Linked DNA regions of Homo sapiens: all the other regions are linked to region 2. Evidence: promoter capture Hi-C in 16 types of primary human blood cells and fetal thymus (Javierre and others, 2016). All regions are on one chromosome and are shown on one strand. Each heading gives the region's core, a stretch centred on a gene start or on the middle of the fragment in contact. The rest is flanking DNA. Distances are from core to core; before and after follow the strand shown. Region 1 overlaps LRP11 (LDL receptor related protein 11). Region 2 holds the start of PPIL4 (peptidylprolyl isomerase like 4). Region 3 has its middle 25 kb from the start of TAB2-AS1. Region 4 has its middle 48 kb from the start of TAB2-AS1. Region 5 overlaps RAET1E-LRP11 (RAET1E-LRP11 readthrough). Region 6 has its middle 68 kb from the start of TAB2-AS1. Region 7 has its middle 68 kb from the start of UST-AS2.

Region 1 (3,214 bases), core at 331-2,830, 280 kb after region 2:
TCCTAATTCCTGCAAATGAAATAAGACTATTTAAAGGTAGTATATAAAATTCTTTGGTAACTTGCATTTTGCAAATTTACTAAGTCACAAAGTTGGCCAGGTGCACTGGCTCATGCCTATAATCCTGGCACTTTGGGGACAGTCTACTGTGTCTTGTTACTCTAGAAAGTTCCATGTATGTTGGTCCTACATACAGCCAATAATTTGGGCTTTCTCCATAAACTCTGAGCTCAGACAGAAGGAGAGAGATGAGGAAAGCACAGCCATTGCTCATAGGCTGCAGGATCAGATTTCCCTGCAAAAAGAGTTCTGTTACTGTCCAACTCACTGCAGTAGCCACGACAGTGGTCACCAAGGACCTCTCCAGCTACCTGGATTCTCTTATATGATACCTGATCCCAGGCCAGGTAGTTCTATAAGATTGTATTACATAAGGGCCGCACGCAGTGGCTCATGCCTGGCCAACATGGCAAAACCCTGTCTCTACTTAAAATACAAAAAAAATTAGCCAGGCATGGTGGGCGCCTGTAGTCCCAGCTGCTGGGGAGGCTGAGGCAGGAGAATGGCGTGAACCCTGGAGGCGGAGCTTGCAGTGAGCCGAGATCGCGCCACTGCACTCCAGCCTGGGCGACTGAGCAAGACTCCGTCTCAAAAAAAAAAAAAAAAAAAATTAGCCAGGCATGGTGGTGGGCGCCTGTAATCCCAGCTACTTGGGAAACTGAGGCAGGAGAATCACTTGAACTTGGGAGGCGGAGGGTGCAGTGAGCCAAGATCATGCCACCGCACTCCAACCTGGGCAACAGAGACTCCTTTTCAAAAGAAAAAAAAAAAAGATTTTATTATATATGATTCTGGCCTAGGAAGCTATACTAGAAGTACTGTAAACATCTGCTGACATAGGAAAGCACTATTTAATACAGAAAAATAAGACCATGCAGCTTTTTTATTTTATTATATTTTTACTGCTAGTAGACAGACCAGAGTGCAATTTTTGTGGCAAGTAATTTTTACACTTTTTCTCAGGGGTGAGGTAGTTAATAGGTACATATTTAACCACTGCTTTTATGGTGCAAATCTCATGGTGTTGATATCCATATTGAAAATATGAGTATGTTTTATTTTCTTTTTTTTTTTTGAGACAGGGTCTCCCTTTGTTGCCCAGGCTAGAGTGCAGTGGTGCAATCTCAGCTCACTGCAGCCTCGACTTCCCAGGCTCAAGTGATCCTCCCACCTCAGCCTCCCAACTAACTGGGACTACAGGTAAGCATCACCACACCTGACTAATTTTTCTATTTTTTTGTAGAGATGGGGTTTTGCCATGTTTCCCAGGCTGGTCTTGAACTCCTGAGCTCAAGCAAGCCTCCCGCCTTGACCTCCCAAAGTGCTGGAATTGCAGGTGTGAGCCACAGCACCTGACCTAAAAATATGAATATTTTCAATAGCATTTTGAAGGTTCAATGTAAGCCTTGTTTAGATTACTACAGAGACTCCAGTGAATGTTCCTGAGCTTTTGCTTGGTAGAGATATAGAAAACATTACTGTGTTTTAAAGTCAATAATGCCTGATTTTTTCAAATGCCAGTTGCTCGTGGATCTCCAAAAGAAACACAAGATTTGTTCTGTAGAGATATAAATCAGTGATATGCAAAACAGTCCATCCAGCAGCCGCACACACAAAACTAGCAGCCCTGAAACAGCTTGGAAATCAAACTGCTAAGTTACCTAAAAACCACTTGTGGCACTTCTCCCTTCATCCCTTTCCTCCTCCCCCATGCCGTACTGCCAGGTTAGCTTGCAAAGGAACTTCTATGCATTCTGCTTTATCTCTCTCTCCAATAATAAATTTGGAAGTGGGAAGATCACATGGTGGGAAACTCAAGTCCTACTTTTTAAAAATAATAAGCCAGGGCCTGGGCATGGTGGCTCACGCCTGTAATCCCAGCACTTTAGGAGGCCAAGGCAGGTGGATCACTTGAGGTCAGGAGTTCGAGACCAGCCTAGCCAACATGGTGAAACCCCATCTCTACTAAAAATACAAAAATTAGCTGGGAATGACGGCACACGCTTGTGATCTCAGCTACTTGGGAGGCTGAGGCAGGTGAATCGCTTGAATTTGGGAGGTGGAGGTTGCAGTGACCCCAGACAGCGCCACTGCATTCCAGCCTGGGTAAGAGAACGAGACTCCATCTAAAAAAATAAATAAAATAAAATAAAATAAAAATAAAAATAAAATTAAAAATGAGCCAGGAATAAAAACAAAGTGCCAAAATTCACCAACTCCCGATTTTTTTCAGAGGACTAACTGGTTTGTCTTTCACCCAATAAAAAAAATAAGATAACTGCATTTACAGTGTTCACCTCACTGTTTCTTCCCAATGAAGATGAGAGCTTGCTCATCTTAATTCTTAAAGGAACTCAGTACTGGAAACACTACTGCACTATTTCTATTTTTTATTTGAATTAACTGCCTTATACACTTGGCGCTCTCTTACCCTGGTTTCCTAGCGAATACCACTGGACTTGAATGTTCTAGCAAAAATTCAAACAGCACTAACATTTACTGAGAGACATCAATTATATTTACATATAATATCTCCTGCAATCTTTGTAGCCATATTATGAGAGATTATTATCCTCTTTTTTTTTTTTTTTTTTTTGAGACAGAATTTCACTCTTGTTGCCCAGGCTGGAGTGCACTGGCGCAATCTCGGCTCACTGCAACCTCCACCTCCTGGGTTCAAGCGATTCTCCTGCCTCAGCCTCCCGAGAAGCTGGGATTGTAGGCATGCACCACCACGCCTGGCTAATTTTTGTATTATTAGTAGAGATGGGGTTTCTCCGTGTTGGCCAGGCTGGTCTCGAACTCCCTACCTCAGGTGATCCACCCGCCGTGGCCTCCCAAAGTGCTGGAATTACAGGCATGAGCCACCGTGCCCAGCTGAGATTATTATCCTCTTACAGGTAAGGAAATGAAGTTTAGAGAAGTTGATTACTTAGTAGCTAGTAATTGGTGGTGCTGGAATTAGAACCCAGGACTGATCCAAAGCAGTTTTCCATTGAACCATACTGCTCTCAAGGTCACAACTAGCAAATACGAGTTTTTTACTCCAAGAACCAAGTCAATACTATATTTATTTACTCATACCCAGGCAAAATCACACACTTTTAAATGATTTTTAGGAAGGTTCTGGACAAAGCTTTATTAAGGATGCAGT
Region 2 (3,222 bases), core at 566-3,065:
ACAAAATTCCCTATGATATTCTTTGAAACACTCGATCCAGCCACTCGATCCAAGCTTACCCCAGTATTATGAGGCAACCAATTATTTTGTTTATGCCAGTTTGAGTTGGGTTTCTATCACTTGAACAAAGGGTCCTAACTAATACAACACATTTATATCCATTAGTCATCATAATGAACCTCTAGTGTGTGCCCTAAAAGTAGCAGACATTGTACTGGGTACTCAGGATATAGAGATGATAATTATGGTATAGTTCCTGCTCTCATTGGAGTTTACATTCTTGAGCGAGGGCACGCTTGTAAACAACACCAGGATAATAGGTAAATGTTAAAATAAAATGTGTCATGTGGTTTATAAAAGACCTAAGACACAGCAGAGGAACCCTCAGGTAACTCTGCTTAGAAAGGAGGGAGAGCTTCAAAGAAGAGATGATGCTTGATCTGAGATTTAGATAATAAGTAGTAAGTTTGCCAGAAGGACAATAGTGGAGAAGAATATTGTTTAGAAGAAACAGCAAAAGAATGGTAACAATGGTACGGGAGAGTTTGTAGTGTTTTCGCCAGGTGGAGAGGAGGGAGGAATAGCTGCGTGCGAGGGAAAGCGGAGCACGGCAGGAGGTAGTTATTGTACAATATTGCAACTTATTTCACCTTCTTTGATAGGCTCTGCATTCCATGTGGGTAGGACCCTGTTTGTAACTAATCTCTCCTGGTCTCAGTTTCTTCCTGACTCTGATACATTCTCCACACCGCTGCCTATTATCTTCTCAAAACAAGTATGCCATGCCTCAATCCTGCTTTTAAAGTCTTCAAGGACTCTGATCATCAGTAGGGCACACAAGACTATTCACGACTGACCTAGGCGTATCTGACCACACTCGAGTCTACCATTCCACGACTCACACCAGTCCTTCCAGCCACACCAAACTACTTGCCGTTTCCAGAAAATTCCAAACAAAGAAAGTCCAAGCTAAGAAAACCCTCATTCCCATTCATCTTTGAAAGAACTAGTTCAAGTGTTCTATATAGTATTCGCTAGCTTTGCTTCTTCCCACCCCCCACCAAAGAAGCCGCCCTCTTCTGGTTTCCGTGGCAACTTACACATTCTTCTACCATAACACATAGAAAACTAAAATGGGTTCCTGTGTCTACTTCCCCCAGTGGAAAAATCAGACCCTCGGGGGCAAGAAGCCAAGCCCAGGACTTAGCCCAGTGCCTCGAAGGCTCAGTCCACACTCCAGACAACCTCTTCCTCCTCCACCTAAGCGGTATGCCCACACTCGCTGCGCCAAGCACACCCTAACTGCCTTCATCAAGATTTAACCGATTACACACCAAGCAATAGTTCCTATGTTCCTCTCACGAGTAAACACAATAAAGGCACAAAAGCTATGGGTATTGTATGTGCAGCTCGAATCACACACACACACGCCCCACACACACACTCCCAAAGGCAATTAATGACCGCAAGCACCGTCCACCGGACTGGCCAACACAAAATACGGGAGAAGGGCTGCCAAGGCTCAAACGAATTCCCGTCACAAAAACTTTTCTAGCCAAGGCCGGTTAATAAAATAGCCCAGTCGCGGGCACCAGCAGCCCAGAAGCTCGAGCTCTAGCCAATCTCTGCCCTGGACTGCGCAGAGAAGGGAAAGTAGGGAGACAAGCTCGGGGGCCCCGGCGACAGGTGAGTGGGGCTCAAGCCTCACCACGCGGCCGTTCTTCGGTGTACAAGTCGATGACGACGTCGCCTAAAGTGGTCTCCAGTAGAACCGCCATGGCGCCCGCTCCTCCTCCGCTACAAACCCCGGGAGGAGGGGGGTGACAGGCGCAGGCCGACGGCGTCGTCTACGCCACGCGTCACCCTCGGCGCGACCCCTTTTGCGTCATCTCGCCGGCGCCGCCCCCGGTTCCGAGCAGTTCCTTCCGGTCGGCGTGCGGGCGCCGGGCTGCCCAGCTGACTTACGGATCGGGTTGGTCCCGCCCCCGGCGCGGCCGTTTTGAAAATCCTGGTCCGCCCTTGGCGATTTTGGTGGAAGCCTGTCCCTCAGAACGGTCTCAGTATAGTGTTTTGTGCCCCGTTTGTGTCCGTCTCAAGAGCAGAGCGGCCCTCCGCGCGGCCCTTTTATCCACCAGGGGGCGCCCGCGGCGGGATCTTCTCTCCACCTATTTGGGCGGACTCCTCCGGGTTTCCTCGTCAGTCTCCTTTTCGCAAAACAACTTTGGGCCTCTACTAGGGGTTTCCGATTCTAAGAACTAACATTTTGTTTTGTTTTCTGTTTTGAGACAGGGTCTCGCTCTGTTGCCCAGGCTGGAGTGCAGTGGCGCGATGTCGGCTCACTGCAACCTCCACCTCCCGGGCTCCAGCGATTTTCCTGTCTCAGCCTCCCAAGTGACCACAGGCGCGCGCCACCACGCCCGGCTAATTTTGTTCTTTTATTTTTTGTAGAGATGGCGGTCGGGGGAGGTGGTCTCACTATGTTGCTCAGACTGGTCTCAAACTCCTGAGCTCAAGGAGTTCGAACTCTTCCCGCCTTGGCCTCCCGAAGTGCTGAGATTACTGGCGTGAGCCACTGCGCCTGGCCAAAACTAACATTTTGCCATGCAAGTTTATTCCCCAGACACTCTTCTGGGCAAGCCTGTCACTCTTTCTTATGACATTTTACACATAATCTCCAATAACTTCACATCTGACGAAAAGCCAAAGCTTTTTTTTTTTTTTTTTTTTTTGAGACGGAGTCTCGCTCTGTCGCCCAGTCTAGAGTGCAGTGGCGCGATCTCGGCTCACTGCAAGCTCCGCCTCCCGGGTTCACCCCATTCTCCTGCCTCCGCCTCCCGAGTTGCTGGGGCTACAGGTGTCCGCCATCACGCCCGGCTAATTTTTTGTGTTTTTAGTAGAGACCGGGTTTCACCGTGTTAGCCAGGATGGTCTCGACCTCCTGACCTCGTGGATCCGCCCGCCTCCGCCTCCCAAAGTGCTGGGATTACAGGCTTGAGCCACCGCACCTGGCGGAAAAGCCAGAGCTTTTATAATGATTTACAAGATCCTCTCCTACCCCATCCTACGCCATCTTCTTATTCCTCTGAAGCCACAGTAGACAGTTTGCTATTCCCTGAACACTGCTGACATACTCCTGCCCCATGGCCTTTTCACTTGCCTTGGTTGAGGGACCTCTTCCTCCAGTTATTTGTATGGCTCCCATTCACCTCCTTCAGGCGCTTT
Region 3 (2,824 bases), core at 82-2,581, 310 kb before region 2:
TGAGCTGGTCAGCCCACTTCCCAATGGGCGCTCTCAGAAGGAACCCTGTGAGATAGAAAGCAGGTCTCTCTGCCTTCAGGATACCTACATTCTAATCAGAGGCTGCCACACTAAACTTGCAGCCTCACCTCATTACAATTCAGTTCTTGTGCTTCTGAACTTTTACACCAGTATTTGGGGAACATTAGGAAGGGGAGACGAAATGTGGACAATGATTCCATTTTATTACATATGAAAAGGGCAGTGGAGCTGATGATTAATAACTACCGCATGCCTTGTGAGCTTGAACAGTCACCACTTTAATGTCAGAGACTTTATTTTCTGTTCCATAGAAAATGGTGGAAAAAGTAGCAAGAAAACAGCATGCATCTGTGGTTATATACTTATGCAATCAGATACTTAATTGCATTCTGTAAATTGCATGTATGTATGTAGGAAGCAATCATTTGTTTAACAACTCTTTGTGGTGTTTTCTTCTAATTTTCCTACAAATTAAATTTTAAACTTGATTTGGGGGTGATACCTAAAGTAAGTTGAACACGCTTTAAATGTCTTTTCTATATAATATTGACTGTCTTGGGAAAAGCACTTAATCACTGCATATGTACATATGTAGATGAGTCTAATTTCTCTTGAAAGAAGAAATTTAAATAAGCTAAGCTAGAGCTCCTATATTAAAACACCTAAAATTAAGCAAAGTATTTTCGAAATGAGTGTGAAAATCTCCTTTGGAAAGTTGACAGTGGGGAAGACATTTAGACCGTATCTCTGGTCCTCAAGTAAGAGGAAGCTCAAACATCAGGGGAGCAGAGGAGGTGTTTACATTTCTTCTTCCAGTTGAAGTTTCACAACTTTGGAAGCAAAAAAGAGAGGAGTGAACAGCTGGCTTTTACAGAGTATCGGAGAGCAGGGTTTCTGGACCAGGGCTCCCTACCCAGAGCAACGGGTTACTGGCAAAGGACAGCGAGAGGATCTACAAACGCTTGGGAAAACATGCTTAACAGGAAGCTCACTGACCTGATTGTGAGGATCAGAAACAGAAATTTGAGGGTGGAGGGGGAAAACTCTGTGAACTTACAGGACAGGGAACAAGACGTGCGCTAGAAAGAGAAGAATGATTGGGGAGGTGTTCCTTAGTGTTCAGCAGAAATAAGGAAGAGGGAAGAGCACGAGGCCAGGCCTCGGGGACCACCAGCCAACCCACAGACACAGAAACAAAGGGAGTTTGATTTTTTTTTTTAGACGGACTCTCGCTCTGTCGCCCAAGCTGGAGTGCAGTGGCACCATCTCAGCTCACTGCAACCTCCGCCTCCCCAGTTCAAGTGATTCTCCTACCTCAGCCCCCCAAGTAGCTGGGATTACAGGCACACAACACCACGCCCAGCTAATTTTTGTATTTTTAGTAGAGACGGGGTTTCACCATTTTGCCAGGCTGGTCTAGGATTCCTGACCTCAAGTGTTCCGCCTGCCTCGGCCTCTCCAAGTGTTGAGATTACAAGCGTGAGCCACCACCCTCAGCCCAGGAGCTTGATATATTAACACAAGACAGAACTATGATCTCACAGTGTCACTGAGGCAGGAACAAGGCCGATGACAGGAATACCACTAAGGGAGGCTATGCCTTGTTCAAACCATAGAAGTGGGGGGAGGGTATCACTGAACTGGATAATAACACTAGGTGTAGTTAGCTGTCCCTATATAGCAAGCATTGTGTTTATTGCCTTCTATTAGTTATTTCCTTTAATCCAACAAAGTAGAGTTCCATTTTTCAGATGAGGAAACTGAGGCTTGGAGAAGTAGGCTCCAAGCAGGCTTTCATCCTCTACACTAAACTGCCTCCAGAGAAAGTGCCCCAGAGCAGAACAAGCCTTGGAATGCTGTCGTACCCCTGGCCCATCCTGAGGGATGCTGCTGTACTTCCCTCACAGCGACCTGTGTGGAAGTCGAAGCCCAAAAGGCAGGCACAGCTGACATCCTGGCCAGGAGTACCCACTCCCATGCCAGGGCATAGTACATAATAGCCCTGTTTCACCTGCCTAGTGTCCACCCCTCACACCAGGAGTGATATATCCTGCATGCAGACCCACCAGCCGGAAGATGGAGGTAGCCAGGCACTCATGGGTGGGGACAAATGATGACAGGAAATAACCAAGGAAGTCATGAATGCCATGGTAACTACCTGGCGGGGGGTGAGAAACAAGGGCTTTCCAGCACAAGTCACAACTTGGGCACTTAGCACAGTGACCAAGAATCTGTCATCCAGGGTCCGAGACAAACCTCCCTCCGCTCAGTGTGCCTCCTTGGCTTCTCCACTGAGACGCCTCTACTGTAGGCCAAGAAAGTTGATCCTGAAAGCTCACCGCAGAAAGCAGCAAACTAAACCTCCTTCCTGCCTGGGCCCAGAGCCACCCAGGGCCCAGCAACCAGTTCTTATCTCTTCATCTGATTTGTCACACGTAAGTGTCATGGTTGAGCCATTGGTTTGTCTCCTCCATTATATTATGAGCCTCTTAAAGGCCAGAAGTGGTTTTTTATCCCTGAATCACCAACATGTAACTGCCCCCTAACAAAGCACTAAGTAATTGTTTACCAAATGACTCATGGATCTGACATTCTTCAAATGAAAACCCCCTAGGAAGGTTTTCTCCAATAGATTAGTCCTGCTTTCCTTTACACTTCACAATATACTTGTTTATTAGATTGTAAATTTCTCAAGGCCAGAAACTCACCTTAATCTATTCAATTGGTGCAAAAGTGATTGTTGTTTTTGCAACTACTTTTAATGGCAAGAACTGCAATTACTTCTGCACCAACCTAATATATC
Region 4 (3,240 bases), core at 168-2,667, 340 kb before region 2:
TTAGCAGAGACAGGATTTCACCATGTTGGCCAGGCTGGTCTCAAACTCCTGACCTCAGATGATCCGCCCACCTCAGCCTCCCAAACTGTTGGGATTACAGGCATGAGCCACTGAGCCTAGCCTTCTCCTCTTATAAGGACACCAGCGATACTAGATTCAGGGTCCATCCTACTCCAATATGATCTTATCTTAATTACATCTTCAATGACCCTATGCCCAAATAAGGTCACACTCTGAGGTAGCAGGGACTAGAACTTCAACATATCTTTTATCTTTTAGGGGGGCACAATTTAACCTGTAGCACCATCATTCACCTGTTTGCGTTCAGATTAATTTCCTACTCTCTCTCTCTCTCTCTGTCTCTCTCTCTCTCTGCTCTTTCTGTGTCTCAAAGTATTAACTCCTATAATCTATATTTTCCAGACTCCCTTGCCAAACTGGCTTCTGGCTGATGTCAACCAACGGGAGGCACTAGCAAGGGACTGGCAGGAGGGAGAACCGAAGAAGCCAGGGTGATTCTCCCCTCTATCTCTGCCTTGGGCAGTGTTTCCAGTAGCAGCTACATCTACTCCATGATTCTAGTTCCTTCTGGAAGGCTTGCTGTAGCTGGGAGGCTCTCCCAGTATGCAGCAAGGGGGCCAGAGCTGCTAAACTCTGTGAATGCCATCCTCCAACTCGCCTCTGCTTCTAAAATCTGAGTTGCTTCATTCTTCAGTTTGCTCTGTCAGCTCTTCCAAGACTTTTATAATTAATTCCCCTAATTAAATTCTCTCTATTGAACTACCTGGCATAAGTTCTGTTTTCCTGACAGACCCCTGACTGATCAAGCTTCAGGCAATGCCAAGCTCTGAGTCAACTAGTAGAGAACAGGAGTGTGCCAGGGGGCAGACATCAAGGCAAGTATTGAAAGGACCACCAATGGGATAAGAGAGCAGACCCCAGTGCCCCCCTTCCCTCCCCCTGCAAACGCAGCACAACTGTCAGGAGACGTGTGTGGGAAATAATAGCTGTGTGCAAAATCCTTCACGTTTCTTAGTGAGCAGCCAGTAGATACCATCCAATGTTGTTTTCAAAAGGAACTATAAGCATATTTCTAGTGTAATGATGTTACAGTAGACACCAAAATTATTTAAAACATCAATAAATAAAAATTATCTCTCAGGACTTAGACTTAGGGTAGGCAGGAATGGGCTTATTTTGGTTTATTTTCTCTCCTTCTGTGCTATTTGAATGTTGTAAAACTTTTGCCTCTATTACTTTTGGTTGTTGTTGTTGAGACGGAGTCTCGCTCTGTCACCCAGGCTGGAGTGCAGTGGCGAGATCTCGGCTCACTGCAAGCTCCGCCTCCTGGGTTCACGCCATTCTCCTGCCTCAGCCTACCGAGTAGCTGGGACTACAGGTGCCCGCCACGGCGCCCAGCTAATTTTTTGTATCTTTTAGTAGAGACGGGGTTTCACCGTGGTCTCGATCTCCTGACCTCGTGATCCACCCACCTCGGCCTCCCAAAGTGCTGGGATTACAGGCGTGAGCCACTGCGCCCGGCCGCCTCTATTACTTCTTTAATGTTTTAAGCACTAATTTCAAAGATTTGACTGGGTCTTTGTCTAGCTAAGGAACAAGTGATTTTATATCAAGTCTTATTTCCTGGACATAGAAGGGGGAAGGTAGAGATGAAAGAGTGGAGAATTTTGAAGCAGGCATGTGAATAAAGAAGGTAATGGCACTACCCATTGACTAAGTAATTGCTTTACATGTTACACTGTGGATGGGGGAAATCCATGCAGAGGGTGTTTCATGTTAGGAAATATGCCACTCTTTCCAAATGTGATATTTTTGAGAATTACTGTGTGTTAGGCCATTCTTGCATTGCTATATATAAAAAAAAAAAAAACGAAAACCTGAGGCTGGGTAGTTTATAAAGAAAAGAGATTTAATTGGCTCACTGTTCTGCAGGCCGTACAGGAAGCATGGTGCTAGCATCTGCATGATGTCCGGGGAGACCTCAGGAAGCTTACAATCATGGCAGAAGGCAAAGGGGGAGCAAGCATCTCACATGGTGACAGTGGGAGTAAAAGAAAGAGTCAGGGGTTGGGGAGGTGCCACACACTTTTAAACAACCAGAACTCATAAGAACTCACTCACTATTGTGAGGACAGCACCAAGTCATGAGGCATCAGCCCCCATGGCTCAAACACCAGGCCCCACCTCCAACACTGGGGACTACATTTCAACATGAGATTTGGGCAGGACAAATATCCAAACCATATCCTACTGTTCGTTCTTGGGAGATGTGTGAGTGCATTTGATCTATTATTTTTAATCCTCACTCCTACTCCTGCTGTCCAAGACCAGTAAGAAGGAGGAGGCTCATCTACCCCTCCACATTGGCAGAGGGCATGGAAGAGACAGAGCTGAAAGGGCTCAAGACTGCTCTGAACATTTATAGTAAGCCCAGGCATAGCTGCACAGGGTAGATAAGTAGTGCTGGAGTGATTAGAAACTTTCATCTACAACAGCACAGCATAGTTTTTAAAAAAATACATAGGCTTAAGAAAAAGATAAACCTGGGTTTCAGTCTCAGCATTGCCATCTACTACTTGTACTTAAATTCTCTGAACTTCAATCTCCATTTCTGCCAAACAGAGATAACATTTAGTCAACACAGTTTTCATGAAAAATGAGAAAATACATGCAAGGAATTTTATAGAATGTCTTGCACGTAGGAGGACCTCAATAAAACACATCCATTGCTGATGAGGAAATAGGTCAAATAAGGCTCTGCATATCTGGATATAAACAAAAGGTGATTGAGAGGGCTTCTTAGATATTTGTAGGTTTTTCAAAGCACTGACTTGCTTACTACTCCTGCTTTTCTTCCAGGCAGTCAAAGCATATTTCCTGACAATTGTACTGAGTGTTTTAAATAGACTGACAAACAACAGAGACAATCCCATGCAAAGCCAGCCTTCTCAGACCAGCTTGTTGCTAGCTGTGGTTGCAGGGAGCAGATTTAGATGAGTCATATGTTGTAGAAATGGGCAGAAAAGGACTGGAGTCCTCGAGACATAACCCCAGATTCAGAGTGTGACACTAAGTCTGGGGCTCTATTTGTAGTGGGTAGATAGCAGGAAGGTGTTATCCAGACTGTGGCCCAGTGAGGGGACCCAGAGTCCCTAGTCATCTGTTTCCTAATCTCCAAATTGCACTGTCCCTCCTGGAGTCATGCAGACAAAATGGGAA
Region 5 (3,095 bases), core at 110-2,609, 330 kb after region 2:
GATTGCTGGGTCATATGTTAGCTCTGTTTCTAATAGAACTTTTTTTTGTACTGTTTTCCATAATGGCTATACCAATTTACATTCCCACTGACAGTGTGCAAGGGTTCTCTTTTCTCCACACACTCACCAACACTTGTTATTTCTTGTGTTTTTTTTTAAATGATAACACCACTTTAACAGATGCAAGGTGATATCTCATTGTGATTTTGATTTGCATTTCTCCGATTATTAATAATGTGGAGCACCGTTTTATGTATTTGTCACCCACTTGTAGGTTTTCTTTGAATAAAATGTCTATTCGTGTCCTTTGCCAGTTTTTGAAAAGCAGGTTTTGTTTTTGTTTTTGCTATTGAGTTATATGAGTTCTTTCTGTGTTAAAGACGAACATTGGATATTAATTCTTTATCAGATACATGGTTTGCAAGTATTTTCTCCCATTTTGTGGGTTGTCTTTTCACTCTGTTGATTGTTTCCTTTATTGTGCGGAAGCTTTTTAGTTTGATACAGTCCCAGCTGTTTATTTTTGCTTTTGTGTGCTTCTGGTGTCACATCAAGAAAATTATTACCAAGACCAATGTTAAGAAGCTTTTTCCCTATGTTTTCTTCTAGTAGTTTCAGTTTCAGGTCTTACATTTAAATCTTAATACATTTTGGGTTAACTTTTGTATAGGTTGTAAGATAAAGGTCCAATTTCATTCTTTGGATGTGGTTACCACTTATTCTCAATACCATTGACTGAAGAGACTATCCTTTCCCTATTGCATATTCTTGACACCCTTGTCAAAATTAGTTGACCATATATGTGTGGGGTTATTTCTGGGCTCTCTGTTCTGTTCCACTATTGGTCTATATGTCTGCATTGATGCCAGTACCATACTGTTTTGATTACTATAGCTTTGTAGTATAATTTGAAATCAAGAAGTGTGATGTCTCCAGTTTTGTTCTTCTTTCTCAGATTGCTTTGGCTATTTGAGTTCATTTGTGGTTCCATTTTTTTTTTTTTTTTTGAGATGGAGTCGTGCTCTATCACCTAGGCTGGAGTTCATGGCATAATCTTAGATCACTGCAACCTCTGCCTCCTGGATTCAAGTGATCCTCCTGCCTCAGCCTCCTGAGTATCTGGGACTACAGGCGTGCACCACAACGCCTGGCTAATTTTTGTATTTTTAGTAGAGACGGGGTTTCACCATGTTGGCCAGGCTGGTCTTGAACTCCTGACCTCAGGTGACCAGCCCACCTCAGCCTCCCAAAGTGCTGGGATTACAGGCATAAGCTATTGTGCCCAGCCTTGTGGTTCCATTTGAATTTTACGATTGTATTTTCTATTTCTGTGAAAAATGTCACTGGAATTTTGATAGGGATTGTAATGAACCTGTAAAACATTTTGTGTAGTATGGACATTGGAACAATATTAATTCTTCCAATCCATGAACACAGGATATCTTTCCTTTTATTTGTGTCTACTTTAATTTCTTTCATCAATGTCTATATTTTTCAGTGTACACACCTTTTACTTCCTTTGTTAAATTTATTCCTAAGTATTTTATGCTTTTTGATGCAATTATAAATGTGTCTTAATTTATTTTTTAGATAATACATTGTTAGTGTATTGAAATCCAACTGATTTTTGTATGTTGATTTTGTATCCTACAACTTTGTTGTATACATTAACTTATTTATTTTTGAGACAGGGTCACTCTGTCACCCAGGCTGGAGTGCAGTGGTACAATCACGGCTCACTGCAGACTTGACTTCCTGGGCTCAAGTGATCCTCCCATTTTTAGCCTCCTGAGAATGAGGGTCTCACTATGTTGCCCAGGCAGGTCTCAAACTCCTAGCCTGAAGCAATCCTCCTGCCTTAGCCCTCCAAAGTACTGGGATTACAGTTGTGAGCCACCATGTCTGGCCTACTGAATTTATTTATTAGTTCTAATGGTTTGGGGGAGTAGTTTTTAGAGTTTTCTATATATAAGATCATGTCATATGCAAACAAAGACAATTTAACTTGTTCCTTTCTCATCTGAATATTTTATTTTCTTCTCTTGCCTAATTGCTCTGGCTAGGATTTCTAATACTTTCTGGAATAGAAGCACTGAGAGTGGGCATTCTTGTCTTTTTCCTGATTTTTGGGGGAAAGCTTTCAGGTTTTCACCTTTGAGTATGACGTTAGCTGTGGGCTTGTTGTATACAGTCTTTATTATGTTGAGATACATTTCTTCTACATCTAATTTGTTGAGAGTTTTTTTATAAAAAGATGCTAAATTTTGTCAAATGCTTTTTCTGTGTCTGTTGAGATGATCATATAATTTTTATCCTTCATTATGTTAATATGGTGTGTCACATTTATTGCTTTGCATGTTGAACCATTCTTGCATCCCAGGGATAAATCCCACTTGATCGTGGTGTATGATCCTTTTAATGTGCTGTTGAATTCAGTTTGCTGGTATTTTGTTGAGAATGTTTGCATCTGTGATCACTGGGGATATTGGCCTGTAATTTTCTTTTCTTATATTTTTCTTATCTGGCTTTGGTGTGAGGGTAATGCTGCTCTTGTAAAAGGAGTTTGGAAGTGCTCCATCTCCTTCAATTTTTTGGAAGAGTTTGAGAAAAACAGATGTTATTTCTTCTTTAAATGTCTTGTAGAATTTACTGATGAAGCCATCTGACCCTGGCCTTTTCTTCCTGAGGAGATTTTTGATTGTTGATTCAATCTCCTTTCTCACTAATTGTCTATTCTGGTTTTCTTTCTTCATGATGCAGTCTTGATAGGTTATGTTTCTAGCAATTTATCCATTTCTTCTAGGTTACCCAATTTGTGGGTGCACAATTGTTTATAGTAGTCTCTCATGATCTTTTGTCTTTCTGTGATATCAATTGTGATGTCTTTCATTTATAATTTTAATCATTTGAGTCTTCTCTGTTTTTCTTCATTAGTCTACGTTTGTCAATTTTATCTTTCATAAAACCAACTCTTAGTTTCGTTTATCTCATCTATTGTTTTTCTAGTCTCAAATTCATCGATTATTTCTGCTTTAATTTTTATTATTTCCTTCCTTCTGCTGACTATCAACTTAGTTTGCTTTTTTTTTTCTAGT
Region 6 (2,923 bases), core at 307-2,806, 360 kb before region 2:
GAGCTCCAATATTAGCTGCATGTAATATTTAGGATTGTAATATAATGTCCCTCTTTGTCTTTTTTAACTGTTGTTGCTTTAATATCTGTTTTGTCTGATATGGTAATAGCTACTCCTGCTTGCTTTTGGTGTCCATTTGTATGGAATATCTTTCTCCACCCTTTTACCTTAAGTTTATGTGAGTCCTTATGTTAGATGAGTCTCTTGAAGGCAGCAGACATTTGGTTGGTGAATTGTTATCCATTCTGCCATTCTGTATCTTTTAAGTGGAGCATTTAGGCCATTTATATTCAGCATTAGTATTGAGATGTGAGGTACTATTCTATTCATCATGCTAATTGTTGCCTGAATACCCTGTGGGTTTTTTTTCTTCATTGTTATTGTTTTATAGGTCCTGTGAGATTTATGCTCTAAGAAGGTTCTATTTTGGTGTATTTTGAGGTTTTGTTTCAAGATTTAGAGCTCCTTTCATCAGTTCTTATAGTGTTGGCTTGGTAGTGGCAAATTCTCTCAGCATTTGTTTGTCTGAAATAGACTATATCTTTCCTTTGTTTGTGAAGCTTAGTTTCGCTGGATACAAAATTCTGGGCTGATAATTGTTTCGTTTAAGGAGGCTAAAGATAAGACCCCAATCCCATCTAGCTTATAGGGTCTCTGCTGAGAAACCTGTTGTTAATCTGATACATTTTCCTTTATAGGTTACCTGATGCTTTTGCCTCACAACTCTTAAGATTCTTTCCTTCTTGACTTTAGGTAACTTGATGACTATGTGCCTAGGCAAAGAGCTTTTTGTGATGAATATCTTGGGTGTTCTTTGAGCTTCTTATATTTGGATGTCTAAATCTCTAGCAAGGCCAGGGAAGTTTTCCTCGATTATTCCCTCAAATATGTTTTCCAGACTTTTGCGTTTATCTTCTTCCTTGGGAACATCAATTATTCTTAGGTTTGGTTGTTTAACAGAATCCCAAACTTCTTGGAGGCTTTGTTCATTATTTTGATTCTGTTTTATTTGTCTTTGTCAGATTGGGTTAATTTGAAAGCCTTGTCTTTGAGCTCTGAAGTTCTTTCTTCTATTTGTTCAATTCTATTGTTGAGGTTTTTCCACGTATTTTGCATTTCTCTAAGAGTGTCCTTCATTTCCAGAAGTTGTGACTACTTTTTATTTATGCTATGTACTTCTCTGGAGATTTTTCCATCCATATCCTGTAACATTTTTTAAATTTCTTTAAGTTGGTATTCACCTTTCTCTGGTGCCTCCTTGAGTAACTTAATAATTGACCTTCTGAATTCTTTTGCTGGCAATTCAGATATTTCTTCTTGGTTTGGATTCGTTGCTGGTGAGCTAGTGTGATCTTTTGGGGGCATAATAGAACTTTGTTTTGTCATATTACCAAAATTGTTCTTCTGGTTCCTTCTCATATGGGTACACTGTGTCAGAGAAAAGATCTGGGGCTCAAGGGCTGCTGTTCATTTTCTTTTGCCCCACAGGTATTCCCTTGATGTGGCACACTCCCCTTCCTCTAGGGATGGGGCTTCCTAAGAGCCAGAGTGCAGTGATTGTTATTTCTCTTCTGATTCTAGCCACCCCGTGGAGCTACCAGGCTCTGGGCTGGTACTGGGGAGTGTCTGCAAAGAGTCCTGTGATGTGATCCATCTTCAGGTGGATACCAGCACCTGCTCCAGTGGAGGTAGCAGAGGAGTGAGGTGGACTTTTTGTGGGAACTTTGTTGTAGTTTTGTTTAGTGTGCTGGTTTTCTCTAATGCTGGTTGTCCTGGCAGTAAAGTTGTCATGTAGACAGACTCAGGACCTCTGGTTATCCAGGATGTTACAGGCAGTAGAGTTAGCTGTTTTCTCCTTTCTTGGGACAAGGCTGTTCTTTTATGAGTTGCTGTAATGGTTTGTGTTGATTGGCCTCCAGCCAGGAGGTGGCGCTTTCAAGACAGCATCAGCTGTGGTAGTACAGGGAGGATACAAGCCTGCCCTAGGTTGGCCAGGTGATGGGTGAAGCCACAGAGCTTCAAAGAGATAATGTCTTTTGTCTTTGGCTACCAGGGCAGGTAGAGAAAGACCATCAGGTGGGGGCAGTGTTAGGCATGTCTGAGCTCAGACTCTCCTTGGGCAAGGCTTGCTGTGGCTGCTATAGGGGATGAGGGTGTTTTTCTCCAGCTGACAGAGTTATGTTTCCTGGGGGATTATGGCTGCCTCTGCTGCATCATACAGGTTGCCAGGGAAGTGGTGGAAAGTTGGCAGTGACAGGCCTCACCCAGCCCCTATGCAGCCAAAAAGGCCAGTCTCAATCCCCCTGTGCTCCCCCAACAGCACCAACTTTATATCCAGGCAGCCGGTGAGAAAACTTTTTTTTAAAAGATCATTTTTCCTCAATTTTAATATTTAAGAAAATATATTTATTTATAAAAAATATTTTTTAAAGAATAAAACATTTTTAAAGTCTTCAAGGCAAAACCAATAACAATGTATTGGCAAAAATCATGATGCCAGAGTAGAGGGGCTAAATTAGCCCTAACTAAAGGATGTGGTGGGCCCACCATAACAAGCTTAAAAGAAAGTCTTAAAAAGATAAAACTGATCCCAAGTAACTTAACTGCTAAAAAGGAAAAAAGTCGGTATTCATTAAAGAAATACAGTAAAATGAGCACTCAACAACGTAAAATTGACAATGGCTAAGATTCAATCAAAAATCACAAAGCATGTAAAGAAACGAGAAGAGATTACCTATAACCAGGAGAAGAATCAATTACAGACTCAGAAATGCCAGAGATAATAGAATGGGTAGAAGGACCTTAAAAGATTTAATATTGAAAGATTAAGATTTTAAAATCTTATTAACATGTTCAAAGATATAAAATAAAACATAAAGATAATGATAAAAGAAATAGCAGATATGAAAAAGATCCAAATAGA
Region 7 (2,882 bases), core at 142-2,641, 440 kb before region 2:
CCCCAAAACTACAGAATACACATTCTTTTCATCAGCACATGAAACATTCTCCAAGACAGACCACATGTTAGGCCACAAAACAATCCTGAACAAGTTTTTAAAAATCAAAATTCCATGAAGTATCTTTTTGCATCACAGTGCAATAAAGCTAGAAATCAATACCAAAAGGTACTTTAGAGCTTTCTCATACCAACCCCTGGACATTAAAATTCATGCTCCTGAAAAACTCACTGTGTCAATGAAAAAATTAAAACAGAAATTAAGATATTTTTCGAAATGAATGAAAATGAAAATAAAACATTCCAAAACCTGGGAGATACAGCAAAAGCAGTGCTAAGAGTTAAATTTATAATATTAAATGCCTACATCGAGAAATACAATAGTAGGATGACTATGGTCAATAATAATTTAATTGTACATTTTAAAATAACTAAAAGAGCATAACTGGATTGTTTGTAACACAAAGGATAAATACTTGAAGGGATAGATATCCCCATTTTACATAATATTATTATGCATTATGTGCCTGTATCAAAACATCTCATGTAACCCATAAATATATACACCTACTATGTACCCACAAATATTAAAATTAAAAAATACTTTGGAAAAAAAAGTAGAAATAACAAATAACAACCCAATGTTGCACCTCAAGGAAATAGAAAAGCAAGAACAAAACGAAGCCAAAGTTAGCGGAAGAAAAGACATAACAAAGATCAGAGCAGAACTAAATGAAATAGAGAACAAAATAATATAAAGGATCAATGAAATGAAAAGTAAGTTCTTCAAAAAGATAAACAAAATTGATAACCCACTAGCTAGAATAACCAAGAAAAAGGAGAGAAGATCCAAATAAACACAATCAGAAGTGAAAAAGGAGACATTACAATTGATACCACAGAAATACAAAAAGAAAAAGAAATAATAGCTTCAGCAGAGACTATTATTATTACTGTATGAACAACTATATGCTCACAAACAAAGAAAATCTAGAGGAAATGGACACATTCCTGGAAACACACCAACCTCCTGAGATTGAACCAGGAAGAAATAGGACTCCTGGATGGAGCAATAATAAGTAGTGAAATTGAAGCAGTAATGTAAAAAATCTTCCAACAAAAAAAGCCCAGGACCAGATGGATTCACAGCCAAATTGTACCAAATATACAAAGAACTAATACCAATCCTCCTGAAATTATTAAAAAAAAAATTAAGGAGTAAGGTATTCTCCCTAACTCATTCTACAAGCCAGTATCAACCTGATACCAAAACCAGACAATGGCACATCACAAAAATAAAACTATAGATCAATATCCCTGATGAACATAAATGAAAAAATCTTCAACAAAATACTAGCAAATCAAATCCTACAGTGCATCCAAAAGTTAATACACTATAATCAGTTGGGTTGTATCCCAGGGATGTAAGGATGTTTCAACATATGAAAATCAATAAATGTTATACATCAAATAAACAGAATTAAGGGCAAAAACCATATAATTATCTCAATAGATGCAGAAAAAGCATTCAATAGAATTCAGCATGCCTTAGTGATAAAAATCTTCAAGAAAGATGAAAAGAACCTAGGCCTGGAAAGAATTTACTCCAACATAATAAAGGCCACATACAACAAACCCACAGCCAACATCATATTTAATGGGGAAAAGTTGAAAGTATCCCCTACAAGAACTGGAACAAGACAAGGATGTCCACTTTCTTTTTTATTTATTTATTTATTTACTTTTTTATTATATTTTAAGTTCTAGGGTACATGTGCACATTGTGCAGGTTAGTTACATATGTATACATGTGCCATGCTGGTGCGCTGCACCCACTAACTCGTCATCTAGCATTAGGTATATCTCCCAATATTATCCCTCCCCACTCCCCCCACCCCACAACAGTCCCCAGAGTGTGATATTCCCCTTCCTGTGTCCATGTGATCTCATTGTTCAATTCCCACCTATGAGTGAGAATATGCAGTGTTTGGTTTTTTGTTCTTGCGATAGTTTACTGACAATTATGATTTCCAATTTCATCCATGTCCCTACAAAGGACATGAACTCATCATTTTTTATGACTGCATAGTATTTCATGGTGTATATGTGCCACATTTTCTTAATCCAGTCTATCATTGTTGGACATTTGGGTTGGTTCCAAGTCTTTGCTATTGTGAATAATGCCGGATGTCCACTTTCATAATTCTTATTCAACATAGCAGTGGAAGTCCTCACCAGTGCAATCAGGCAAAAGAAAAAAAAATAAAAGGCATCAAAATCAGAAAAGAAGAAGTCAAATTATCCCTTTTTGCTGATGATTAATCTTATCTCTAGAAAACCCTAAAGACACTACCCAAAAAATTCTTAGACTTGATAAATGAATTTAGCGAAGTTTTAGGATACAAAATTAACATACAGAAATCAGACACATTTCTATACAACAATCATGACCTGGGCAAGGACCAAATCAAGAAAGCAATCCCATTTACAATAGCTATAAGAAAAATAAAATACCTAGGAATACATTTAACCAAGGAGAATAATGGTCTCTATAAGGAGAATGACAAAACACTGATGAAAGAAATCATAGATGACACAAACAAATGGAAAAACATCCTGTATTAGTTCGTTTTCACACTGCTATAAGGAACTGCCCAAGTCTGGGTAATTTTATAAAGGAAAGAGGTTTAATTGACTCACAGTTCAGCTTGGCTGGGGGGGCCTCAGGAAATTTACAATCATGGTGCAAGGCAAAGGGGAAGAAAGGCACCTTCTTCACAAGGCAGCAGGAAGAAGTGCCCAGCAAAGGGGGAAGATATCCTTATAAAACTATCAGATCTCATGAGAACTCACTCACTATCATGAGAACAGCATGGGGGAAAC

What was found. The method cuts DNA at HindIII sites, captures the fragments that hold promoters and counts their contacts. A CHiCAGO score of 5 or more calls a contact.
Region 1: a contact is called between a fragment that was not itself captured here and the fragment with the promoter of PPIL4 in region 2, in 5 of 17 cell types (naive CD4 T cells, erythroblasts, neutrophils and 2 more). The highest score is 7.5, in naive CD4 T cells.
Region 3: a contact is called between a fragment that was not itself captured here and the fragment with the promoter of PPIL4 in region 2, in 4 of 17 cell types (neutrophils, non-activated CD4 T cells, naive CD4 T cells and 1 more). The highest score is 7.2, in neutrophils.
Region 4: a contact is called between a fragment that was not itself captured here and the fragment with the promoter of PPIL4 in region 2, in 1 of 17 cell types (neutrophils). The highest score is 5.6, in neutrophils.
Region 5: a contact is called between a fragment that was not itself captured here and the fragment with the promoter of PPIL4 in region 2, in 1 of 17 cell types (naive CD4 T cells). The highest score is 5.5, in naive CD4 T cells.
Region 6: a contact is called between a fragment that was not itself captured here and the fragment with the promoter of PPIL4 in region 2, in 5 of 17 cell types (non-activated CD4 T cells, naive CD4 T cells, total CD4 T cells and 2 more). The highest score is 7.5, in non-activated CD4 T cells.
Region 7: a fragment that was not itself captured here is called in contact with the fragment with the promoter of PPIL4 in region 2 in 5 of 17 cell types (naive CD4 T cells, non-activated CD4 T cells, total CD4 T cells and 2 more); the score reaches 10.0 in naive CD4 T cells.

Annotation. Positions count from the first base shown.
Region 1 is chr6:149,827,372-149,830,585 of GRCh38, forward strand. The region is part of intron 5 of LRP11 (LDL receptor related protein 11); the gene reads right to left. The region is part of intron 13 of RAET1E-LRP11 (RAET1E-LRP11 readthrough); the gene reads right to left. Among named protein-coding and RNA genes, the nearest start is that of RAET1E-AS1, 35 kb to the right of the region's middle. The HindIII fragment of the contact is 3,228 bases long and covers 1-3,194 here.
Region 2 is chr6:149,544,228-149,547,449 of GRCh38, forward strand. It overlaps PPIL4 (peptidylprolyl isomerase like 4), which reads right to left and starts at 1,816. Exons shown (of 13, transcript NM_139126.4): 1 at 1,709-1,816. The coding sequence starts at 1,778. RefSeq lists enhancers at 1,706-2,005, 2,709-3,222. The HindIII fragment of the contact is 2,652 bases long and covers 53-2,704 here.
Region 3 is chr6:149,231,007-149,233,830 of GRCh38, forward strand. It overlaps a transcript of TAB2 not described here. Among named protein-coding and RNA genes, the nearest start is that of TAB2-AS1, 25 kb to the right of the region's middle. The HindIII fragment of the contact is 8,008 bases long and covers 1-2,824 here.
Region 4 is chr6:149,207,558-149,210,797 of GRCh38, forward strand. No RefSeq gene overlaps it. Among named protein-coding and RNA genes, the nearest start is that of TAB2-AS1, 48 kb to the right of the region's middle. The HindIII fragment of the contact is 1,182 bases long and covers 827-2,008 here.
Region 5 is chr6:149,871,566-149,874,660 of GRCh38, forward strand. All of the region lies in intron 5 of RAET1E-LRP11 (RAET1E-LRP11 readthrough), which reads right to left. The region is part of intron 1 of RAET1E-AS1 (RAET1E antisense RNA 1); the gene reads left to right. Among named protein-coding and RNA genes, the nearest start is that of LRP11, 8.8 kb to the left of the region's middle. The HindIII fragment of the contact is 1,552 bases long and covers 584-2,135 here.
Region 6 is chr6:149,188,490-149,191,412 of GRCh38, forward strand. No RefSeq gene overlaps it. Among named protein-coding and RNA genes, the nearest start is that of TAB2-AS1, 68 kb to the right of the region's middle. The HindIII fragment of the contact is 1,996 bases long and covers 559-2,554 here.
Region 7 is chr6:149,099,675-149,102,556 of GRCh38, forward strand. No RefSeq gene overlaps it. Among named protein-coding and RNA genes, the nearest start is that of UST-AS2, 68 kb to the left of the region's middle. The HindIII fragment of the contact is 4,506 bases long and covers 1-2,882 here.